Linked DNA regions of Homo sapiens: regions 1, 3, 4 and 5 are each linked to region 2. The links are contacts of gene promoters, found by promoter capture Hi-C in blood cells and fetal thymus (Javierre and others, 2016). All regions are on one chromosome and are shown on one strand. The core of a region is centred on a gene start or on the middle of the fragment in contact, and the rest is flanking DNA. Distances in the headings are between cores, read along the strand shown.

What was found. Contacts are between HindIII fragments. The CHiCAGO score rates a contact against its expected background, and 5 or more counts as called.
Region 1: a contact is called between a fragment that was not itself captured here and the fragment with the promoter of RTL6 in region 2, in 2 of 17 cell types (total CD4 T cells and naive CD8 T cells). The highest score is 5.9, in total CD4 T cells.
Region 3: a contact is called between a fragment that was not itself captured here and the fragment with the promoter of RTL6 in region 2, in 1 of 17 cell types (naive CD8 T cells). The highest score is 5.8, in naive CD8 T cells.
Region 4: a fragment that was not itself captured here is called in contact with the fragment with the promoter of RTL6 in region 2 in 1 of 17 cell types (total CD8 T cells); the score reaches 5.2 in total CD8 T cells.
Region 5: the fragment with the promoter of PARVG here is called in contact with the fragment with the promoter of RTL6 in region 2 in 2 of 17 cell types (monocytes and total CD8 T cells); the score reaches 5.8 in monocytes.

What each region holds. Positions count from the first base shown.
Region 1 is chr22:44,005,616-44,008,315 of GRCh38, forward strand. It overlaps a transcript of PARVB not described here. Among named protein-coding and RNA genes, the nearest start is that of PARVB, 17 kb to the right of the region's middle. The HindIII fragment of the contact is 198 bases long and covers 1,243-1,440 here.
Region 2 is chr22:44,496,859-44,499,558 of GRCh38, forward strand. RTL6 (retrotransposon Gag like 6) reads right to left here and starts at 1,375. Exons shown (of 2, transcript NM_032287.3): 1 at 1,186-1,375; 2 at 1-953. The coding sequence starts at 698. RefSeq lists an enhancer at 1-46 and silencers at 1,306-1,435, 1,526-1,585. The HindIII fragment of the contact is 14,128 bases long and covers 1-2,700 here.
Region 3 is chr22:44,080,917-44,083,616 of GRCh38, forward strand. The region is part of intron 1 of PARVB (parvin beta); the gene reads left to right. Among named protein-coding and RNA genes, the nearest start is that of PARVB, 58 kb to the left of the region's middle. The HindIII fragment of the contact is 1,958 bases long and covers 409-2,366 here.
Region 4 is chr22:43,988,915-43,991,614 of GRCh38, forward strand. SAMM50 (SAMM50 sorting and assembly machinery component) reads left to right here. Exons shown (of 15, transcript NM_015380.5): 13 at 197-343; 14 at 1,351-1,492. Among named protein-coding and RNA genes, the nearest start is that of PARVB, 34 kb to the right of the region's middle. The HindIII fragment of the contact is 574 bases long and covers 1,011-1,584 here.
Region 5 is chr22:44,179,475-44,182,174 of GRCh38, forward strand. It overlaps PARVG (parvin gamma), which reads left to right and starts at 1,451. Exons shown (of 14, transcript NM_022141.7): 1 at 1,451-1,711; 2 at 2,268-2,443. RefSeq lists silencers at 712-761, 1,932-2,061 and enhancers at 1,438-2,168, 2,169-2,700. The HindIII fragment of the contact is 15,489 bases long and covers 1-2,700 here.

The DNA.
Region 1 (2,700 bases), core at 92-2,591, 490 kb before region 2:
AAAGGAAAACCCCACCTCTCCACACCCAAGTAACGAAAGGATCAGAGGCTACTCAACCCTCCCACCTTTCCACTGCATGGCAGATGAAAAATGGGAAGTTCCTCTGATTGGTCCCCTCCCACAACCAATCAGACTGGTCGCAGGCCACTTCTTCATTTACATCGGTTGTAATCAAGTAACAACCTAGAGGGTATTTAAACCCCAGACAATTCTGTAACCAGGGCTCTCAGCCACTGCTAGAGCCTGCTCCCACTTTGAGGAGTGTACTTCTGTTTCAATATATCTGTGCTTCCGTTGCTTCATTCTATTGTTTCTTTGTTTGTGCGTTTTGCCCAATTCTTTGTTCAAAACGCCAAGACTCATAATCAAGACCCTCCACTGGTAACAGCGCTATCATAGCTCACTGCAGTCTCAACTCCCTGGCTCAAGGGATCCTCCCACCTCAGTCTCTGGAATAGCTGGGACCACAGGCGCATGCCACCATGCCCAGCTATTTTAAAAGTATTTTTTATAGAGGCAGGGTCTTGCTATGTTTCCCAGGATGGTCTTGAACTTCTGGGCTCAAGTGATGCTCCTGCCTCAGCCTCAGCCTCCCAACCCTCTGGGATTACAGGCACAAGGCACCACACCAGGCCCATGGAATGCTTTCAATAGTGTATATCCTAGCATCTTACGCCACTCCAAGTGTAGTGCAGGAATCTGACGATACATTAGAAATGCAGAGTCCTGGCCAGATGCCGTGTCTCATGCCTGTAATCCCAGCACTTTGGGAGGCCAAGGTGGGCAGATCACGGGGTCAGGAGATTGAGACCATCCTAACCAAAATAGTGAAACGCTGTCTCTAACTAAAATACAGAAAATCAGTCGGGCGTGGTGGCATGCGCCTGTAGTCCCAGCTACTTGGGAGGCTGAGGCAGGGGAATCACTTGAGCCCAGAAGGCAGAGGTTGCAGTGAGCCGAGATCGTGCCACTGCACTACAGCCTGGTGACAGAGCGAGACTACATCTCGGAAAAGAAAAAAAGAAAAAGAAATGCAGAGTTCCAGGCCCTGCCCAGCCCACCCTGTGGTTTTGCAAGATTCCCAGGTGGCCTGTGTGTGCAGTCAGGATTGAGGAGCACCCTCTAGGTTTGAACTCAGCACACTTCCATACCTTCAGCCCTCTCCTCTCATAGGTAACTCAGCTCCCACCTGCCACGTGGCAGGATCTCCTGGACAGGCAGCCAGAAAGCTAGTAACAGCAAAGCTTTGTTACCTAACATTTCCTTCTATTTGTGTGCAGTACCTCCCCCTGTCATGCCCCGTGTGAGGGCAAATCACCTTCATCGCTGAATCTTTCACCTGGGCAAGTGCAGGAGGGGAGCCCCAGATCAGCTGCTCCCATCCATGTGAGTTCTGCTGCGCGGATGCAAAAGGCACAAAGATCCCAGGGACCCATAGGAAGCTTCACAATGGTTACCATCCACCTACTGTCAGTGGCCACTACCTTCCGTTCATTCAACCGTTTGGGGGACAGCGATCAAGCTCTTAGTGTGTGCGAGGCTGCGTTTGCGGGTACAGCGGGCGGAGATGACACTTCAGGTCTAGTGGGGAAGAACAGGTCAGCAGGGGGTACCCAGGAAAGATGGGGAGGGGGTGCCCAGCTCCGCCTATGGGAGGAAGGTGGGCTGGGGGGAGTGGAGTCTCCTCCGAGAAGCCCATCCTTTCCCGTGCTGCTTTGCAGTTTAGCATGGGGCCTGCATCAGGCTCTGCACTCCCACGCTGGAGGCCAGAGATTCATGTGAATTTCCAGTCGTGGGTCATGGCCAGAGCATCCTTTATTCTCTTTCCCAAGGTCGGGCTCTCTGTTCACCCTCTTCTGCCTCTGGGAGCCTCTGGACTCATTTCTTCCCTCCTGCGCTCCTCAGCGGGAAGTCTCCATCTCCTTCCTTCCTGTAGATTCCTCTTCTCCACGAGAAAGTTTTAGAGGCTTTTCCAATCCCCCAAGGCAAGACTTTGAATTACCTTTAGTTTTAGGCCCTGATTTATGTGGGTTTGACAACAGGCTTTAAAAAAGTTTTTTTTTGGTAAAATGCACATAAAATGTACCATTTGAGGTCTACAGTTCCGTGGCTTAAATCCATTTACACTGTTGAGCAACCATCACCACCACCCATCTCCAGAACTCTTTCATTCCGAAGCTGAACCTGCACCCATTAGGCACTCACTCCCAATTCGGTCCTTCCCAGCCCCTGCAGCCACTGTTCTACTTCCTGTCGCTATTAATTTGACTCCTCTAGGTGCCTCATCTAAGCAGGATCATACAGTATGTGTCCTTTTGTGACTGGCATATCACACTAGCATCATGTCCTCAAAGTTCATCTGCGTTGTAGGCTGAGTCAGAATTTCATGTATATACGCATGCATACACCACATTTTCTTTATCCCTTCATGTGTCAGTGGACGTTTGGGTTGTTTCTACCTTTAGAGACAGGTTTTTTTTGTTGTTGTTGTTGTTTTGTTTTTGAGACAGAGTCTTGCTCTGTCACCCAGGCTGGAGCACAGTTGCATGATCTCGGCTCACTGCAACCTCCGCCTCCCAGGTTCAAGCAATTCTCCTGCCTTAGCACCCCCGCCCGCCTCCGAGTAGCTGGGATTACAGGCGCGCATCACCACGCCCAACTGATTTTTGTATTTTAGTAGAGATGGGGTTTCACATGTTG
Region 2 (2,700 bases), core at 125-2,624:
GGCAGGGCTGGCGCTGGACTAGTCCCGTTGGAAGCTGGATGCACTGGGCAAGGCCCCGTGCCCGCAGAGGCCAGCTGGCGGCAGAGCATCTGCCTCTCTCGCACAGCCCTATTAGAGGCAGAAGTCTTCCTGATTTGGGCGCGCCGCGCATGCCGGAGCGGAGACTTGTAGGTTCTCCGCAACTCTGCCAGGAACCCCTGATAGTTGTTGCGCAAGGGGCTGTCAGGTTGCATGTGGGGGATAGCCCACTTCTCCGCCTCCCCAGTCAGTCGAGACACAAGGAAGGCCACACGCTCGGCCTCACCCGGGAAGCGGGAGGCCTGGAAGATCATGAATCTGTCCATCTGCATCAGGAACCCCGCCAACCGGCCTGGGTCCCCGGAAAAGGGCTCGGGCAGAGAGGTTGGAGGTGTGGTCATGGGTCGAGTCCCGTTTGAAGTAATTGAGGAGATGGGCGGGGTGATCTGCAGAGCCCCCGGGATCCGCGCCCTGGTGCGTAACAAGGTCAGCTCTGCCATCACGCTCTCCAGCATGTTGGTGAGATTGGCCTTCTCCGCCCGCAGGGTGGAAGCCTCCCGCCTCAGCGCCGAGTTGGTGAGGCGCAGGGAGGTCAGGGTGTCAATAACGTCATCCATCTGGGCATTCGGAGACGCTGCCAAGGCTGGGCTTTCAGCTTTGGACGTCTGCGGCTGCACCATGCTGGCCAGAGGTCAGCCACACGCTGAGATCCGCGGGTGGACCAAGAGGGTGTGGTGACCAGGTGGGCCCCTGTAGAAATGGGGGCAGTGTGGGGTGCACGACGGCAGGGCGCTGCGAGACCCCCAAGCCGAGGGCCCGAGAGAGGGGCACGCGGTGCCAGGCCCTAGGGACTTCGGCCCCGGTCCCACGCGGCTCCTTTACTGCAGACTTCGCGGACTACGGAGCCAGACGGGTGGCTGGACCTGCTCTGGGCCCTGGAGGATTAAGAAAAGATGTTTTCAAGGTTTCAGTTGCGACTAGCGGGCAGGAGGGTGAGGGGCGGCGTGGAGGGCCCGCGCGTGGGTGGCGAGGCTGCACAAAGCCCCGCGGCGCCCGCCCCGCGCCCGCCCGGGGGAGAACAAAGGGGGCTGCTCCTTGGCGGCCGCGGGCCTGGGGGCCACCACAGTGGCGGGGCCCGGCCGGGCAGGGGGCCGGGGGCACGCGTACCTGGGGTCTCGCGGTTCCTCCGCGGCTCTGTCCGCCGCCGGCCGTGACCAAGATGGCCCGCGCGGGGGACGCGGCCAGGCCGATGAATCACCGCGCGGACCGCCGAGAACTGCTTCCCGGTCAGCGCAGCCAAGCGACGGCGCTGGCGATGGCGGCGGGCGGCCTCCGGCAGGTGCAGGGACCGGGCCAGGCCGGGGCCGGGGCAGGGGCGGGGCCGGGGTCGCGGCAGAGGGCGGGTCACCGCGCGGCCTTTGTGCGGGCGGGGCCGGCGCGGTGGCGGTGGCGGGCGGGCCTTAGGCTGGCCCCGCTGGTTGCCATGGATACCGACCGCTCCCGCGCGTGCGGAGACGACCGCTGCCCCGCCCCCGGAAGTGATGCACAAAGTCCCACCCCCCCCCACCCCCCAACTCGGGCTGCTGCCAATCGGGGAAGACTGTAGTTGCTGCGGCGTCTTCATCAGGGCGGGTACCTGGTGTTCTCCCAGTCATTCCTCCCAAGAGGGCTTGCAAGGCTCTTTCTGTGGTTGTCATTGGGTTTATTTTTTTGATGATTTACTGTTCTTCTTATTTTTTTTTTTTTTTGAGACGGAGTCTCGCTCTGTCGCCTAGGCTGGAGTGCAGTGGCGCGATCCTGAGTCACTGCAACCTCCGCCTCCCGGGTTCAAGCGATTCTTCTGCCTCAGCCACCCAAGTAACTGGGATTACAGGCGCGTGCTACCATGCCCGGCTAATTTTTGTATTTTTAGTAGAGACGGGGTTTCACCTTGTTGGCCTGGCCAGTCTCCAACTCCTGACCTCAGGGCATCCGCCTGCCTTGGCCTCCCAAAGTTCTGGGATTACAGGCGTGAGCCACTGCATCAGGCCCTTATTGTGATTTGAATATAAATTTAATGTAACAAATCTTGATGTAAGAGAAGTAAAAAAAACTTTATACTACTCAGACTCCCTCCACCTAAAGATAGCAAATAGTAATACATATATATGTAACGTAGAGATAGTAATATTTCTGTACTTCCATCCAGTCATTTTTCTATGATATGTTCTACAAAATATTTTTTACCTTATGAATATTTTGTAACCATAACAGCACATTGAATTTTGAGCATTTTCCTATTAAAGATAGTTCAGAAGCATGATTTTCAGTTATTGCCTGTGGTCCATGGAACTCCTGTACCGCAAAGTATTTAGCCATGCCCTTTTTGATAGATCCTTATCTTGTTTACCATGCTAAAGTTTTATAAACTACACTTGTATATAAATCCCCACCCTTTTCTCTGCTGGGTTCCCCAGAGTAAATACCAAGGAGTGAAGATACCTGGCTGATATGGTTTGGCTGTGTCTCCACCCAAATCTCATCTTGAGTCGTAACTCCCACAATTCCCACATCGTGGGAGGAACCTGGTGGAAGGTGATCGAATTATGTGGGCAGGTCTTTTCTGCACTCTTCTTGTGATAGTGAGTGAGTCTCAAGAGATCTGATGGTTTTAAAAAGGGAAGTTTCCGGCCGGGCACAATG
Region 3 (2,700 bases), core at 138-2,637, 420 kb before region 2:
GCCTTAGACTAATAGTGCCTCGAAAGGAGAGGAAGGGGAATGGATGCGGGGAGTGGGGAACCTGACCTGCTTTGTGGGGTCATGGAGTGACTCTCCACCTGCCGTCATCCCTCCATCCCTTGTTTGGGGCTGTTCCTCCAAAGGTGCAGTCTCCAGCAGGGGTGTGGGGACCCCTGTGGGCCGTGAAGGCCTTTCTCCTTTTCTGCTGTGGGCATTGCATCTGTTCCTGATGGGTAGAGTTGTCTGTGCCCGGTGGGGCCCAAGGCAGTGCCATGGTGGTTCTTTGAGTATCTCAGGTGGGAACTGAGCTGCCAGCACCAGAGGCCAATGGCTTCCAGCACTCCCCAAATCCACCTGCTTTTGGAAGGGGCCTGTCTCCGAAGCAGGCCGGGTCCTCCTGTTGGGGGAAGCTTTCATGGAGGCATCTGTGTCACTTCTGCAGGGGAGACAGCCGCTAGAGGGCACTGTCCTTCTGGCCTTTCCCACATCCCCGTTTCCATGGCAGGTGCATAGTAAAGCCTTTCTTTTTCTAACGACTTAATGATTTAATCTTCTTATTTTCTCAGCAGACAACGCTTTGGACTTCCCTGGATACATTGGGACGTTACCAGTCACATTAATTAATACGAGTTTCACAACTTGGGAACCAGCGAACGTGCTTCTCCAGACTTAGCTTCTGCACGGCCGTTTCTGCTTTCCTTTATGAAGTGCGTTTCTCTAAGAGCCTGGCAGTCTCATGGGGCTCGTCTGTTGCTGGAAGTGAGCAGCGGGTTCCATTGCCCCCCGCCTCGGTGGGGCTCATTGTGCAGCTTGCTGGCAAGTGGCTGGGCTCGGAGGGGCGGTGACGGTGACACACGCCAGGGGAAAGGTTGGCATCCTCTTCTGAGAATTGTTTCTTTTGGGTTTCACACCCTGCCCCCACCTTCTGCTGCCTCGAGGCTCTTTTCTTCTTATTATTAGCTAATGACAGATTTCATGACCAGTGACTGAAATCATTTGGAAGTACCCCCTGAAAGCCAGCGTGATGGGTTGGAGAAATGTGACAGACGCAGCCTCTGAAAATCACAGAGGCAGAGGCTTGCGTCGAAGGACTTGCTAAGGAATTAGGATGAGAGTGGTCAGGAGGCAGTGGCTGCTGGGCACTGGAGCTGAGGGTGAGGGGCCGAGAAAACGGGAGGCAAATGGGGTAGCTCTTTTTTGGGGCGGGGGAGGCTGGCTTTGGGGATGTGTATCCCACTGTGCACCGCAAGGTGGGGGCACTGGGCGGTAGGTTCCCGTGCTCCGGAAGGGTGGCAATTGAAGGGAGGAATTAAAGAAGTTGGCCAGGTGCGGTGGTTCGTGCCTGTAATCCCAGCACTTTGGGAGGCCGAGGCAGGTGGATCACTTGAAATCAGGAGTTCGAGATCCACCTGGCCAACATAGTGAAACCTCATCTGTACTAAAAATACAAAAATTAGCTGGGTGTGGTGGTGCACACTTGTAATCCCAGCTACTCAGGAGGCTGAGGCAGGAGAATCGCTTGAATCTGGGAGGTGGAGGTTGCAGTGAGCCAAGATCGAGCCACTGCACTCCAGCCTGGGCGACAGAGCAAGAGTCCGTCTCAAAAACAAAAACAAAAACAAAAAACAAAAAACAAAAACTGACTCATGTGGCTTTCAGTCTGAGAAACCAATCAGATCATCATTGTCTCTAAAGAATGTGTCCTCCTTTGTAGACAAGAAGCTCACCGGCCCCTCCATGCCCCGGTTTCTCGCCCAGGTGGGTTAGACGGCCAACCTGACATTTTACCGTGCACCTGGAAGTCTTTCTTCCTGTTCTCCTTCCCACAAAGGATTCATTTTTCTGTGGTTCTAACATTTTCCTGATCACCCCAGGGACAAAGGGGAAGAAAAGACCGTGTTTCTGGGCCAAGGGAATCATCTGTTTAACATGGGCTTCGGAGCTTTTTTTACATTTCTATGTAAGCAACTTTTCGTATTCAGAAGACCCAGTTTCCCTGAGCCAGATGGACTCCTTCCATCTCGGGGTGGTCTGTATTTCAGATTCCTGCAGCAGGTGGCTGGTCGGAATGCACACCCCAGGAGGTGAGGCTGGGGGGATGTTGGCTCCTGGGCTGCTTGTACTAGCAAGTCCCTAATTGCGGAGCGGACTCCTTCCTCCTGAGCCCATCAGCCTCTACGTGGCCACATCAGGGTAATTGGGTTCCTTGTGAAACACGACTGCCAGGCTAATGTAAACCTTAATGGAAACCCTCTTTTTCCACCCAATTAAGTGGCTGGAGGTGGGATGCTGTGTGAGAGCCGTCAGTTCAGTTCCCTGACTTTCTCTTGTAGAAATTATCTATGTAGCTCCATTTGGCCTACATAAGCTTAGCATTTGTGTTCATTCATTCATTCATTCCACAGATATTCAGAGAGCAGTTATCCATGTGCTGGGTTTTATGCAGGATGTGAGGCCATGGTCATGAATGGGACCTGGCCCCTGTGCACTCCTTGCGGGGTCGGGGGGTGCAGGGAGATGAGCACAGTCCACAATCACATGATCGGGGAATAGGGTTTGTCATTGTCATGTGCACGGGGAGCTGTGGAAACCCAGAGGAGGGGCCCGAACTGCACCCAGGGATAGAGGATGTGCAGAGTGTGCTTTCCAGACGGTGGGAAATGGGTGGAGCTAGCTGACCTGAAGTGAAGGGCATTGCAG
Region 4 (2,700 bases), core at 48-2,547, 510 kb before region 2:
CAAACCAGGAGAAAAAGAAAGATTATTTAAAATGAGGCCATCAGTATCAGGAATGAGAAGAACAGCTGCTTGCAAACTCCAGCACTGTGTGGCGTTGTTTACAGGACAGAAATCTTGCTTCTGTAAGTTGTGGAAAGTTAACGTGATGTTAACCTTGTCGGACCTTGTTTTTGTTCTGCACCCCTCCTTTGCTTAGGAGACTACCTAGGTGGAGAAGCGTACTGGGCCGGCGGCCTGCACCTCTACACCCCATTACCTTTCCGGCCAGGCCAGGGTGGCTTTGGAGAACTTTTCCGAACACACTTCTTTCTCAACGCAGGAAACCTCTGCAACCTCAACTATGGTAAAACTTGCGCTATTCAAGAAACCATTGTAGTACAGTTGTTTTCATGTTTAAAAGCACAGTACACAAAGAGGTGTCTGTCTTTTTTTTTTTTTTTTGAGATGGAGTCTCGCTCTATTGCCAGGCTGGAGTGCAGTGGCGCAATCTCGGCTCACTGCAACCTCCACCTTCTGGGTTCAAGTGACTCTCTTGCCTCAGCCTCCCGAGTAGCTGGGACTACAGGCGCGTGCCATCACGCCCGGCTAATTTTTTGTATTTTTAGTAGAGACGAGATTTCACCATGTTGGCCAGGATGGTCTCGATCTCTTGACCTCGTGATCCACACCCCCCTTGGATTCCCAAAGTGCTGGGATTACAGGTGTGAGCCACCGTGCCAGGCCATGTCTGTCTTTTTAGATTACATAGTCATTAAAGTTAGAGACTGTGCCTTACTTGAAAAAAATTCTTACAACAGCTAACATAATGCCCAGCATTAAGTGGTTGGTTGAGCGAATGAAGCATACAAGAAAAATAATCATCTAATGCCCTTACGAAGAAAAATCTGTTTGTCTATTTAATAAACAAGTCATGATGGCCACAGAGCTGAGTAGGATTGGGTGCCTTCCTCAGGGAGTTCAGGTCCAGAAGAGACTCCCAGCAGATGCCTGGGTGCTAGGGGTGCCTGGAAAGCTTCCTAGAAGGCATGGAAGTCTCCAAGCTGAGACTCAGAGTGGGGCTTCCCAGGTGGTCAGGGGATGGGGAAAAGTCATTCTAAGCAGAGGGAACAGAATATGCCAGGCCCAAAGAATTGAGAAGGCGTGGCTCATTCTGGATGTGAGTAAGTGTGGCTCCAAGTCCTCTCTTGACCTGGGTCCTAATCTCACTTCATGCATCCTCCCTAATCTCTAGGCCTGGCTTTAAAAACAACTGCAGGGCCCAGCCAGGGGGAGCCAGGGCTTGTCTGGGAGAGCTGGGAGAGCTTGGAAGGACGGGCACGCACTGTTGCTCACAGGTCTTTCTCTTTTCAGGGGAGGGCCCCAAAGCTCATATTCGTAAGCTGGCTGAGTGCATCCGCTGGTCGTACGGGGCCGGGATTGTCCTCAGGCTTGGCAACATCGCTCGGTTGGAACTTAATTACTGCGTCCCCATGGGAGTACAGACAGGCGACAGGTACGTGTTGGGAATTATTTTCCACAATCACATCCCACTCTCCAGTAATTTTATTTTGTTTTGGACGTGGTTAATTTCATTAGTGGCTTTTAAGCTTGAAGATTTTAAGAGAATTAAATAGTTGCAAAATAATGAAAACACATGTATTTTCCTCCTTTGCGTTTTTCTCCATCTAGCTGGGAGGAGCAGGTGTGAAGCGTTCCCACCCCCTCCCTCAGGTGCTTTGTGCTTATTGTTCCCAGGGTAGTGGGAGCCCCTGCCAGGGTCTGGCTGGAGGAATTGACAGGTGATTTGGTTCCTGTGTGCTGAAAACAGAAGGCAGTGTTTTGAGCAGTTGACTTTGCAGGCCAGGGTCTCTAGGAAAGTTGGGGTGAGTGAAGCTTTGTTCCTGACCACAGAGGACACGATCTTGAGAACCCCTCTCTCTACAGCAGAGGAACCCACCTTCTTGGCTTTTCTTCACCCCTTATTTTATTGAGGAAAGATTCCCTAAATGTTACATGGGTGAATATGGTATAGGGCTAGTTACACAGTTATATAAACAAATTCTATTTCTTACATGCATTGTGTAAAATTTTTTTTTTTTTTGAGACAGACTCTCATTCTGTCGCCCAGGCTGGTGTGCAATAGCACGATCTTGGCTCACTGCAACCTCTGCCTCCCAGGTTCAAGAGATTCTCCTGCCTCAGCCTCCTGAGTAGTTGGGATTACAGGCATGCGTCACCACACCCGGCTAATTTTTTGTATATTTAGTAGAGACAGGGTTTCACCATGTTGGTCAGGGTGGTGTCAAACTCCTGACCTCGTGATCTGCCTGCCTCAGCCTCCCAAAGTGCTGGGATTATAGGCATGAGCCACCACGCCCGGCATTTTTTTTTTTTTTTTTTTTTGAGACTCGGTCTTTCTCTGTCACCCAGCTGGAGTACAATGGCCTGACCATGGCTCACTGCAGCCTTGACCTCCTGGGCTCAAGTGATCCCCCTGCCTCAGCCTCCCAAGTAGCTGGGACTACACACCAGGCTAATTTTTGTATTTTTTGTAGAGACAGGGTTTTACCACATTGCCCACCCAGGCTGGTCTTGAATTCCTGGGCTCAAGCCATCTGCCCGCATTGGCCTCCCAAAGTACTGGGATTACAGGTATGAGCCACCGCACCCAGCTGCGTTGTGTAAATTTTAAGAGATTCAGACGTGTTTTCATTATAGTGT
Region 5 (2,700 bases), core at 201-2,700, 320 kb before region 2:
TGTGATGATAACAAGCTCACCCCACAGTCCTTAGATAACCTGTGCTCGTATTGCGTATGGAAGCCACAACTCTGCCAAAGCCACAATTTAATAGGTACTTCGTTCTGAGTGATGACAGGTAATTATTTTGCCATCACAGGCTACGATCTATTAGAACTCCATTCTCTAACAGTTACTAGGTCCCCACTGCCTTTAAATCAACCAGAACAAGTAACCAATCCCAGTTCCCATCCTGGAGGTCGTGTTGCCTGCAATTGTTTCTGGTAACAAATCCGAAGTTAATTGGGATTCAGTTGCCGATGATTAGAGTCTCTTCAGTTGTTTGGAGGAGAAAGGAATCTAACATAGGAAGCTGTGTGATTCTCAAGCTGTTGGAAGGCTGGAGGCAGCGCCTCCAGCAAGGACTCTTGGAAGAATACTGCAGAGCTGGCTCCTGAAGGAAGCTGCCGAGTCAGGCTGGCCCTAGAAGCATGCTTTCTGGGTTGAATGCTTTAGGTTCACCTCTGCAGATCCACTCCCCACCATTTTCTCTCCTCACATCTATGGGCCGCAGCAGGGGACTTCTTTTCTCTGGCTTCTGGCTGGATGTGGGCAGGGGAGGCCCTGGCAGGAGGGAGGAGAGTGAGGCTTGGTCATTGATTCCTCCAGCTGTGCCCTTCTGCTGGTTCACCATGAGCTGGCTGTGTCCCTCTACCAAAGGCCACAGCTCCTATCCCGAGGCCCCTCTTAGAGCTTCAGTGATTCTGTTCCTGGGCTCTGCCACCCACTCCCTCCTTCACCCTCTAGGTTTTGAAGAAGTAACAGCTCCCCATGTTGCTAGCCTGGGGTGTAGCACTGTCTCTTCTGGGTTCCTTTAACCCTGCCCCAGCTGTCCCTTTATTAAACAGTCTTCAGTTAGCACATGGGAATATACCGTCTCTTTGCTGCTGGGACTGTGACTGCTGCTACATCTATGTGGCTGTGATCCAGAGTCAGAAGCCACCACCAGAACCACTGTGTCCAGAGCTGGGCTGAGCCTGCTACACACGCCCCAGCAAAATAGGTCCTGCACGGTGGCTTCTCTCCCCACCTGTTACAAGCCCCAGTCTAGCACGGGCACTTCAGAATGGCAGGGACTGACTCATGTGCCTCAGTGTCTTCCTCTGTAATATGGGGGTGATGATTGTACCTACCTCACAAGGAAGTTTCCAGTAAAATGAAAGCCCTTAAAATTATGTTTGTTTCATCACCAATGACTCCATAAATATTAGCAACAATACCAGTACTAAGTTTTGTCATTTTTTATTAACTTCTTGTAAACGACCCTACTTTCCTGCTCTCACACACTCCTTACACCTGCATCCCACCTGATTTAGCCACTTTCTGCCTAACCTGTCAGAAAGGGTAGATAGCTTCCCAGTCACCTGTTGCTAGGGAAACTCACCATTTCAGCCCGGATGGTGAAGATTCCAGCTTGAGAGACCAGCTCGGGTCTGAAGTGTTTCTCTATCTACTGTGCTGAGATCTCTCCTTCTCGAACCCTGCTATGCCTTTGCATACGCTGTTTTCTCCACCTGCCACGTTCTCACCCCTTCTTCTTCCACTGCAAACTCCTATGCAGCCGTCAAGGCCCCATTCTCCTCTGGAAAGCCTTCCCGATCCCCTTGGCAACAACCACCACCAATATTTATTCACTGAGCCCACTTTGTGCCAAGCATTGTTCTAGACACGGGTATGTAACCGCGATTGAGAGAGACAGACCACGCACAGCCTGGATTTTATTTTAAGAGCTATTGGGTGCCGTTGGTGGGTTTGAGTGAGTGGGGTCAGGAAGTGACTCACTCCTCCGAGGGCTTGTGGGAGCCTCAGCTCAGGGGCGGGCAGGGGGCGTGGGGAAGTCTGCAGCCGAGAGTCCAGGTAGGAGTCTCCTGCGTGGTCCCGGGAGAGGAAGGGGCCTGGCCCGGGGCGGGGTGTGGAGGTGGGAGGACGGCGGTGCGGGATGGAGGGTGGAGGCCAGGCTGACAGGGTGCTGGTGGTGGGTTGCGGGGGTCGACCCCAGGCTCTGGCCTATGTAGCTGCCATTTTGGAGGTGAACAGCCTGCGGGGAAACTGGCATGGTTTGGGGAAGGCGGGGAGAGGGGGAGAAATGAAAGCATTGAGTTTAAGTGGCCTGCAGAACCCCGGGGGCCCAGGCGGCACGGCGGGCGCTGGGGCTCCGGGCAGAGCTTTCTGGAGGTTTGTGGCAGCTTCACTTTCACGGCATCCACCCCCCTCGGGCCCTGCCGCAGAGAGGAGGAAGCTCCTGCCGGCTGAGCGGGCCTGGAGGAAGTGAGCAGCGGGGCTCCTGCCTCCCGGCCTGGTCCCCGAAGACCCCAGAAGAACCCGGAACTTGCTTCCATTCGGAATCCAGGGACCACCCTTTGCACTCAGTAGGCCTTTGTTTTCCTGCGTGGAAAGCGGTTGGGTGAGTTCTGGCATCGGGGCCACCATACTTGAGTGTTGGGGGTCACGGAGGGAGGGGCCCAGACACCACCTGGGAAGGATCCCAGAGTGCAGTCCCAGCCCAGGCCACCCGGGGAAGGGAGTCGGTAAAGTGGGACCTTGAGTCCCCACGGCCCCTCCGGCTGCCCCTGCTCAGAGGCTGCTCGGCGTCCTCCCTCCCTGTTCTACTGAGGAGTTGCCGCCTCTGAACTTCAGCCAACCCCTCCGTCTCCAGGTGAA